Regions from separate parts of the Homo sapiens genome. Here region 1 is linked to region 2. The links are contacts of gene promoters, found by promoter capture Hi-C in blood cells and fetal thymus (Javierre and others, 2016). All regions are on one chromosome and are shown on one strand. Each heading gives the region's core, a stretch centred on a gene start or on the middle of the fragment in contact. The rest is flanking DNA. Distances are from core to core; before and after follow the strand shown. Region 1 has its middle 27 kb from the start of LINC01151. Region 2 holds the start of ZHX1 (zinc fingers and homeoboxes 1).

Region 1 (5,033 bases), core at 1,620-4,119, 610 kb after region 2:
GTGCTTCAGTCTCTGGCAAGCAGAGTGTTAAGTCTGGCTTCTTATGCTCTGAGAGCTAAGGTCCTCATACTCAGTGTGTAACCTCTCACTCAATCTTCCTGTGTTCAGTACACTGTCCCTGCCCTCAACAATGCTGTATATGCCCCACTATGCTTTATTCTTTCCAGGAATTAAGCCTTCAGTTGTCTGGGTTGGGGAAGGGGCAGGATGAGGGGCCTGGGGAGGGTCTATCTACTTCTTAAACATACTTCCAGCCAGTCATTGTGTCAACAGACTCAACTTCCCACCTATGTCCAGTGGTACCCTGGGATTCTGCAGTGAAAATCGGGCTTGTTCTTATTGTTAGCTTGGGGTTCAACTTCCTTAGGTCTGTTAAGTGAGTTATCACTGGTTCATCTGCTTCCTAGAGCCCCAGATTTTATTTGTTTATGTTCTTTCTGGTTATCTTTTTCATTGAGGTTTAATGCTTAAAAAAAATTTTCCAGCCGGGCACAGTGGCTCACACCTGTAATCCCAGCACTTTGGGAGGCCAAGGAGGGTGCATCACCTGAAGTCAGGAGTTCGAGAACAGCCTGGTCAACATAGGGAAACCCCATCTCTTCTAAAAATACAAAAATTAGCTAGGCATGATGGCGGGTGCCTGTAATCTCCGCTACTTGAGAAGCTGAGGCGGGAGAATCGCTTGAACCCAGGAGGTGGAGGTTGCAGTGAGCTGAGATCAGGCCAGTGCCCTCCAGCCTGGGTGACAGAGTGAGACTCCATCTCAAAAAAAAAAAAAATTCCTTTGCTGTAATATTTATTGGAATTTCTGGGAGGGAGCAGAAATAATGTTTATGTTCCATCCACCACTTTTAAGTGGAAGTCTATAATATCCTCTTACAGCATTGAACGATTTTATGGTGAGGGTGAGAAGATGTTTTAGCATGTGGCTCAAAGGAAATGGGAACAGCTTTTTCGGAATTGATAATAGATGTAGGAAGTTGGCATGGCTGCCTATCATTCTCTTAGATTAAAGCAGAGATCCTAGGGAAGAATTAGTGAGAAGGATGTCTTTTGAAAGCTTGACCAAAGTTTGGATTCCATTTCATACTTAGAGAAAGAGAATGAGGGATATCTGTATTTAGGAAGTACTGCACTGGTGATTTTGTGGAGACTCTATGCCAAGAACCCAGTTCATATTTCTAGGAGAGGTTGAAAACCGTAGGTCATCAATTCCTAGGCAGGTAGCAGTGCCAGGGCCCCTACAAACTTAACTGTAGTCAGGTTTTGACTTTTACATTGCAACCAACACCCACAGATCATTGATCTCTTTTTCAGGGGGTGGGGTGGGGTAGGGCCTGTAGCCATGGGGTTTATTATGTTAGAATTTGGACTGATGCTTTTGGGTGTAATGAATTGTGACTTGCTGAAATGGTTAGGGAAAAGGTTTATATAAAAGTCTCCTAATTAGCACCACAATGCTGGAAAAGGAGAAGAACAAAATTATATCAAGAGACCATGGACCATTAAAACAATTTTGTTGAAATTCACAACTGCTCTGAACTACTGCTACCACGACCACCACCACCGCTACTACTTATAATGGCAATTATTTATTAAGCACCTGTGAGGCTTCCAGCACCATTCTAAGTAATGGGCATACCTTCCCTCATCTGATTCACATACAAAAATGTATGAAGTATCATTTGCACAGGCAGTCAATAGTTAAGTGAATAACAATAACTAACACTTATTACAAGATTACTATATCCCACTCAATCTTCAAAGTTCTTCATATGCATGACTCATTACAGCCTCATAATAGCTTTACGAAATCAGTTCTTCATACTCACTATTTAATGGATAAAGAATCTGAGCCTCAGAAGGTTAAGGAACTTCTCCAAGGTCAGCTGTGGCAGATTTGGAGATAACCCAGGTTTGTATTACTCTTCCTATTCTACAAATAAGAGGAAGTGCCTGGATTCAAGAGGAGAAAAGCATATACCACATTTTGGGGAAATGGTAATAGAAAAATGAGGTAAAGTCCATCGGAGACACAGTTTTCTCTCTCAGAGTTTGGCCAAAAATTTGCCTGGTGTCTGAAATAGGCTAATGTATCAATAATCCTATGTAATATTTCCATAGTTCTTTGTTGTTTGGAAGGCATACTTGCAGTCGCAATCTGCTTTGGTCCTCACGATAACCCAGGAAAGTAGAAAATTCAGGGACTGCTGTCTCCATTTCACAGACAAGGAAACTGAACTCAAAAATTAAAATAATTTGCCCATATTCGCACAGACAGTAAGTGTGAAAATCTCAGGCATCATTTCTTCATTCATTCATTCAAAACAAATATAATTTTTTGAAGTCTACCATGTACCTGGCAGTGTTAAGAGTTCTGTGAATTTTAATAGTAAGTAAGAAAAAGTTCCTGTCCTTGTGAAATTTATGTTCTAGAAGGAGAGACGAACAACAAATAAAAAAAAATTGTAAAATATATTAATTGGTAGTGATAGGTGCTATTAAGTAAAATAAAGCTGAGGAAGGAGGTAGCAGGTGGCCAGGTGGGAAGAGGGAATGGACTATTTTAAACCAGATATGCAGGAAATCTTCTCAGATGGGCAACATTTGAGCAGGTGTCTGCTGGAAGCGAGGGAGTCAGCCATGCAAGTATCTGGAGGACAAACATCCCAGTCAGAGGGTTCAGCAAATGCAAGATCCCTGATGTTGGAATGAGGTTGGTATATTCAAGAAACAGAGAGAAAGCCAGTGTGGACTTCTCCATGTCAGAAAAGAGAGAGAGGAAGGAAATAAGAGATGTGGTCAGAGTGGTGAGCTAGAACTGAGCCATAAAGGGGTTTATAGACAAGATGAGAAAACTGGATCTTATTCTAAGTTAAGTGGAAGTCTTTGGAGGACTTGGAGTGGGGAAATGACATGATCTAATTTACCCTTGCAAAATATCCCTCTGAATACTATGTCGAGAATTTACTGGGTGGATGTTAGGGAGGGCGGTGACATGGAAGTAAAAAGCCAAGTGGGTAGGTGTATTCATTGGGATGGGCTGAGTAATTCCAAAGGAACAATGTTCCATGTTTTGCAGGTCTGTTCCACATTATCTTCACTCTAGGACCCAAGCTGATAAAGCAGCTCCCTCTGGAGCTATTGATGGTCTCATGGAAGAGACAAAAAAAGATCACAGTGAATCACATTCTGCTTCTGAACTCTTCTGCCTGGAAGTGACAAACATCATTTCCATCACATTTCACTGACCAAAGCAAGTCATGAGTGTAAGCCTAGTATCAGTGGGGTGGGGAAGGAGAAGCAAATTATTGGAAACCACAGGAGGTTATTGCAATAATAAGGCAAAAATGAAGCCAGTGGCTGGGTGCAGTGGCTCATGCCTGTAATCTTAGCACTTTGGGAGGCCAAGGCAGGTGGATCACTTGAGCTTAGGAGTTCAAGACCAGCCTGGGCAACATGGTGAAACCCTGTCTCTACAAAAAATAAAAAAAAAATTAGCCAGGCATGGTGGCATACACCTGTAGTCCCAGCTACTTGCGGGGCTGAGGCAGGAGCATCACTTGAACCCAGGAGCTCAAGGCTGCAGTGAGCTGTGATCTTACCACTGCACTCTAGCCTGGGTGACAGAGTAAGACCTTGTCTCAATAAAAAATAATGAAGCTGGCTTGGTCTAGAGTGGAAACAGTTGAGGTGGTAAAAGGACTTGCTGCTTGAATAAATGTGGGGTATGAGAAACGGAAGAGTTAAGACGGACTCCAGGGTTTTGGTCTGAACACCTTGGTGAAGGATTTGTACCACTTGCTGAGTTGTAGAAGTCTGAGGGAGGTGCAGGGTTAAGGGGAAAAATTAGGAATTCCATTTTGGACATTTCTAATAAGGGAAACAATGGATTTAAAGATAAAATGTGGGAGTCCTCAGCATGTAGACTGACTTTGAAGCCATGGACTGGATGAGATCACATGGAGAATGAGAGCAGAGAGAGGAAACAAGAAGGCTGAAAGTGAGCCTGGGGTCTGTCAGTCTATATAGGTCAGGAGGAAGAGGGGAATCCAGAGAGGGAGAGATGGAAGAGACAGATTGGGAAGAGGGGAAAAAAGAATGTGGGACTGCCTAGAAACCCAGTAAAAAAAAAGTGTTTCATGAAAAGAAGGATCAACAGTGTCAGTTGCTGCTATTAAGTAAGATGAGGATTAAAATCCATTGTTGGACTTGGTCAGATGCAGGCACTAGTGACCTTGACAGGCCATTGGTGACTTTGTTACATGGTGGGGGTAAAAGTCTGATTGAAATGGGTTGAGAAGAGCCCGAATGTTCTTCTGATTCCAAAGTCAATGCCTACCTTGTTTTGCTAAGCTGCATAGAAAGTTCTCGTGTGCAGGATGCAGTCACTGAAAATGTTGTAGAACTGAAGAATTTGTACCTCATTCTTGGAACCACTCAACCTGGAAGAACAACTCCCTACAAACGTGAAGGCAACTACCTGAGCATAACTGGTTCACTGCCTTTTCTTCTGGGAGTGTGTTGAGTAAAATTTGAACAGAAATATCTGTTTTTCCATCCAGGCTCTAGGCAAAGTCTCCTTCAATGATGGGGCATGGTACAAATTTGTTAGCTCCCTTAACTATGAAGACACAAGAAAAGGTTGGAAATTAGGATTAGGAAAAATAGAAGCTTATTGTTTACTGCCCAGCTTCAAGTACGGGAAATAAAACCTTTTTCCAAGAGCAATACATTGGATTAAATGAAGTAATTTTACTTCAGAATGATACTCCAAGGGGCTTTCCCAAGTAGTAAAACAGACAGCAAAAGCTCTGAAATAAAGTGAGAGAAAGGTGGGAAATGGAAAAGAAAATAAACATGCATCTATTACTGGGTGCATTTTTGTTTGGCCTGTAGGGCATTCCTGCTGACAGCCATTTCTGGCTGTGTATGAGATATGCCATGGAGACATGGGAGGACCAGATGGCACTTCTGAGCCTCACCCTCAGGTACTGATTGTATCCAAAATAAGCCAGGTTGGTAAGGCCAGG
Region 2 (5,030 bases), core at 1,744-4,243:
CGCAGCTGTTAAAATCCATCATATTTACAATTTTTATAAATGAATTTATTTTAATAAAAACAAGTTACTCTGTGAGCCTGATCTCTAAGCAGATTTATGTGGGCTGGCACAATCTGCTATGCTAAACATATATTCATATTGCTTAAGTCTGCAACCAGTTTTTTTTTTTGAGTGGTGATGATAACAGTCTTGCTTTGTAGAAGGATACCAAGTAATTGGCAGCAATTCAGCTAAGGACATTGTTCTCAGCACTGTGTTTTCTTGGACAGAATTGCCCTGTGGGCATGACCCTAAACTGGGAGAATTCTGGATGGCTGGCATTGGGCAGTGAACCAGGGAGACAGCTTATAGGGAGGAGGAGGTGACTCTATAAACTAGTGCTAAAGTAGAAGAGGAGAAGGAAGAATAAAGTGAGGGAGGAAGTGGGGGTAAAATGTGAAGTTACAGTCAACAGCTCCACATCCCTAAAGGGGTCTCTTCTCATCTTTCACTTGACACATCTTTATGCTCCTGTTTTTTGCTTGGCTACTTGATTGTAAGTTCCTGGAAGACAGGAAAGTTGACTAACTCAGCTGTACATCTCCCACAGTGCCTGGCATATACTGGCACACACAAAACCTAGTCATCGGCCGGGTGTGGTGGCTCACACCTGTAATGCCAGAACTTTGGGAGGCCAAGGAGGGCGGATCACGAGGTTAGGAGTTCGCAACCAGCCTGACCAACATGGTGAAACCCCGTTTGTACTAAAAATACAAAAATTAGCCGGGTGTGGTGGCACGCGCCTGTAATCCCACCTACTCAAGAGGCTGAGGCAGAAGAATGACTTGAACCCAGGAGGCAGAGGTTGCAGTGAGCCGAAATCGCACCATTTCACTCCAGCCTGGGCAACAGAGCGAGACTCCGTCTCAAAAACAACAACAACAACAACAACAAAAGAAAACTTGTCATTAACTGTGTAGACAAAAGAATGAATTTCTCTATTTGAAGCATTTCCAGACCTCTTCCTCGGTCTAAAGAGGTTCCCAGCGAGGGCAGTACTGCCCCTCAGGGGCATACTGAAATTTTGCCGGGACAGTTTTTGTTTTGCATTCTATTGGTGGCAGAGTATTTACATTGTGAAAACTCTGTTATTTTAAAATTTTTCTTGATATTAGTACATACAGTATTTTATTATGAACTACTTTCTCCTTTTTCACCTTTATTAGAACATTACATTGGTTTCTTGAAATTATTTGTAGAGATAGTTTGCATTAGGAATTTAACTCCAGAAGAGTAAAGCAGTGTTATATTTTTTGTTGTAAATACAGGGCATTGAATGTGGCAGGGTTGAATACCTTTGCTTATAAAATTAAGCCTTATCCTACACAAGTTTTAGGATTCCAGGATGAAACCTACAAATAAAAAGAATATTGTAGAACACTGATTTCAACGATCAGATTCCACGGCCAGGCGCGGTGGCTCACTCCTGTAATCCCAATACTTTGGGAGGCCGAGGCTGGCGGATCACTTGAGTTCAGGGGTTCAAGACCAGCCTGGCCAACATGGCGAAACCCTGTCTCTACCAAAAATACAAAAATTACCCCGGCGTTAGGTGACGGGCCCCTGTAATCCCAACTACTCGGGAGGCTGAGGCAGGAGAATCGCTTGAACCCGGGAGGCAGAGGTTGCAGTGAGCAGAGATCGCGCCATTTCACTTCAGCCTAAGCGACAACGCGAGACTCCGTCTCAAAAAAAAAAAAAAAATCAGACTTCCACTTGAAGCAATTGCATCTTTTAGGATTAATGTGGCTCAGCGGAGCTCTGCTGTGCTTTTAGGATTACTGTGGCTCAGCGGAGCTCTGCACAAAGGGTCCGCGACTGGGATGGGGGTGGGGAGTGAACGTCAAGGGGCCCAGGAGCGCTCGAGCGTCCAAGGCCCGGCGTGTGGAGCAGCTGGAGGGTGAGTCGCCGCTCTCCGCTTTGGTTCTGTTCCTCCACGTTCTGACCGCGGTGCGGGGGAAAGGGAAAGTGAGTAGGGAGGGGCGGAGACGCCGGGCAGTGTTCCCGAAACCCCTGGCCCTCGCTGGCCCCGCTGCGGGGCTGGTTCCCTGAAAGCCGACGGGATGTGAAGCCCTCGACTCGGACAGAAGCCTCTGGAAGAGCGAGTGGCGGTTCGCAGGGAGGAGGGCGGCTGAGGGGCAGAGGGCGGCTCCGCCTTGCCCGGCGGTTCTGAGTGCAGCTGAACTGAACTTTCGGTGTCAGCGGGTGGAGCTGCGGCCCGCGGAGGAGCGGGGTCCGAAGCGAGGAGAGGTGGAGCTGCCGCTGACAAGGGGCGCGGCGACTTCTGTCAGGGCGCTGGGCTCCCGGCCGGACTCGCAGCAGCCCCCCGAGGGGCGGGGCCTGGGTCGTGTCGCCCCAGGGGATGGGCGTGTGATGACAAGGGGCGTTTCAGTAGAAGCCAGCATGCTTACCTCTCACGATCCAGCAGTGACATTAGGAAGGCGGAGCGCAAGGAAGGCGGGGCTGCCTTCTGTGCTGACCCGAGAGAAGACCAGGCTTCAGTCCACAGCGGGCGGAGCGGTCGCAGGCAAAGGGCGGGGCCATTTCGAGCCCTGGGAAGGCGGGGCGTCTCCTGACAGGGGGCGGAGCTTCCGCAGTCTGGGGCGGGGCTTCTGTTGACAGGGGGGCGGGGCGCCTCCCTACCTCCCGCGGTGCGCCAATCCCCGGACTAGGGGCCGGGGTCGGACCCCAGTGGAGTAGCAGGGTCTGGGCGTGGAGAGCTCGGCGCCGCACGGGGTGGGGGCGCGCGGAGGACGCGCGCGCGGGAGGGCCCCGCCTTGGCCGGCTCTCTCCCTTCCCCCTCCGCCCCCGGACGGCCGCTGGGGCGCGCGCCTCTCCTCGCACCCCCACCCTGAGTCCCCACACTCCGCGGGGCCACCGAGCTGCTGAGGCCCCTTTGCGGGCCCGCCGAGCGGTTCCGGGTTTAGGGTTCACAGGTCAGAGTTGACTCCCTGAAAAGTGCAGCCGGTTTGAAATGCAAGATGGCGGCGGCGTGGCGCTGAGAGGCGCGGCGGCCCCTGCAGGTAGTGGCGCGAGCCGGCTCCGCGACCAGCGGGCCCGGAGACTCTGGGCTGCGGGTGGGAACTGGAGCGCAGAGTCCGCGGCCGGCACGGGAAAGGCGAGTAGCGCGGGGCCTGGCGGGAGGAGGGCAGCCTCACAGCAGAGACCCCTGGGGCTGAGCCCGCTCGCGGCGGCGGGTGGCGGGGTGGACCCGGCGTGGGGCGTCCGAGGGGGAGGGACGGGGCCTGCCTCGCGGCTGGGTAGTCGCCGCAGAGGGACAGACAGACCCACAGCCTCCCTCGCTCTTTTTGGGTGTCTCCGCCACCGAAAGAGCTTGGGGGCGGGGGGCTCTCTGGAGGGAACATCTCAGCCCCCTGCCTTGGTGAGGACCCAGCAACTTAGGATTGTTGAGAGGAGTGAAGACTGCGTATTCCCAGCGGAGGGCGCCGCCGGAGGGAGCACCCCAGTAATGTTGGGAGTCCTAGAGGAGGTCAGGAGCGCTGTCCTCCGGGGGCGTGTGGCTGCCTCGTGGGGGACCCAGTCTCCCTGAGAGTAAGGAGAGATTCTCTTGCTGGAGCTGAGCGCACTGACTGAGGTTGGAGCCCCAGCAAACCCTTCAGGAGAAGTCTTTACCTCCAGTTCAAGGAAGGCTATGCGCACCCGTTTCGGGGCCAGGCCATGTCCCAACTTTGGGAAAGACTGGGAGTTGAGTCCTTAAGAACCATATTACGATTGTGACGAAGCCCTGGGATTTAGGGAGAAGTTAATTAAAGAGGATGGTAGGGGCGTGGGGGTGTGGGGGCTGACCCATGGGAATCCTCCAAGCCTTAGGGCCCACAGTGAACAATCTACTAATACCTCAAGGGGTATAAAAGGCTGGGAAGGAGAGGTGTGAGAGGAACAAGGTCTAAGGGCAGGAAAGAAGAGCCCTGGCAGATCCCCTTTCCTTATATATTTACACCAAAGTTGGAGGTAAAGGGACTTGGCAATTCTTTGTTTTAGTACCTTTCCTGTCCTCTCTCCTCCGTGGGTAACTGTAAGGAAAGAGCATAGCCCCTGAGAAGGAAAAGATTCCATTTGATATCCTTAGCTTAGGTTAGTGAAGGATCCAGCAGCTGGGAAGGCGTCAATGAGAGACAGCAGGCGGGGGAATTAGAACAGAGACTAGGGATGAGAAAAGAGGAATACAGGGAAGATATCGGACAGAGCAGGAATTCCACAGCCCTTTTCTGTCAACTCAGCCCAGCTATTAGAAAAAAAAAAAAATGCGAAGAGCTAATATTTGAGAGAAAAATGTAAAGGCTGAGAGAGAAGTCGTGATGTGATTAGGTTGGGATTCCATGTAACTTAAGCAGTTCTCTTGGAGGTTAATGTGATAGCAGAAAAAGGAAAATCACAAAATTGGAAAATATACAGCGGTTCACGGTTAGGGAGGAAGAAGCAGTCTCCCCCCAGGAACAGTGAATATTTGGTTTGGGGTGTGTGTGTGTGTTGTGTGTATACATATATAAGAGCACTTTAGATTTGCTGGTGTTGGTCATTGTTTCTCAGTCTTTGTCTGAAAGCTTTAATTTGTGTTATATGGTGCTACATTAATTATCTTCGTTTCTGAAAAATTATTCTGAAAAAGTCATTTGTTTTTATGTCGGGAGCGAAGGTGAGCAGGAGTTGGTTTTAACAGGGAAATTGGCCCTAGTATACCCATCGATTATTTTAATTTCTAAAGTAGCAATTCTGACTCCTGATTTTAAGCAAAAGAAATGTGAGTGCTGCCAATGACAATAATGCGGTAACAGGACATAAAAGAAAAAGGGCTTTCATGAATATTTTTTTCCTTTTAGCTTTTCTCTCCTTTCCCAAAGCATGTTAAGGCTAAGCAGACTAATTTTATACAAAGTAAAATGTATAATCGTGGACCTTTTCGATATAAAATGATAGCATTTCAGTTATCAATGAATCTTTTTTGTTGAAGTACCTCTTCAGACGCCTTA

The links. Contacts are between HindIII fragments. The CHiCAGO score rates a contact against its expected background, and 5 or more counts as called.
Region 1: a fragment that was not itself captured here is called in contact with the fragment with the promoter of ZHX1 in region 2 in 1 of 17 cell types (total B cells); the score reaches 5.9 in total B cells.

The regions. Positions count from the first base shown.
Region 1 is chr8:122,664,872-122,669,904 of GRCh38, reverse strand. No RefSeq gene overlaps it. Among named protein-coding and RNA genes, the nearest start is that of LINC01151, 27 kb to the left of the region's middle. The HindIII fragment of the contact is 3,614 bases long and covers 1,063-4,676 here.
Region 2 is chr8:123,272,249-123,277,278 of GRCh38, reverse strand. ZHX1 (zinc fingers and homeoboxes 1) reads left to right here and starts at 2,993. Exons shown (of 4, transcript NM_007222.5): 1 at 2,993-3,062. It overlaps ZHX1-C8orf76 (ZHX1-C8orf76 readthrough), which reads left to right and starts at 2,993. Exons shown (of 6, transcript NM_001204180.2): 1 at 2,993-3,062. RefSeq lists an enhancer at 1,643-1,762 and silencers at 2,243-2,932, 3,133-3,332, 3,369-3,736. The HindIII fragment of the contact is 9,533 bases long and covers 1-4,606 here.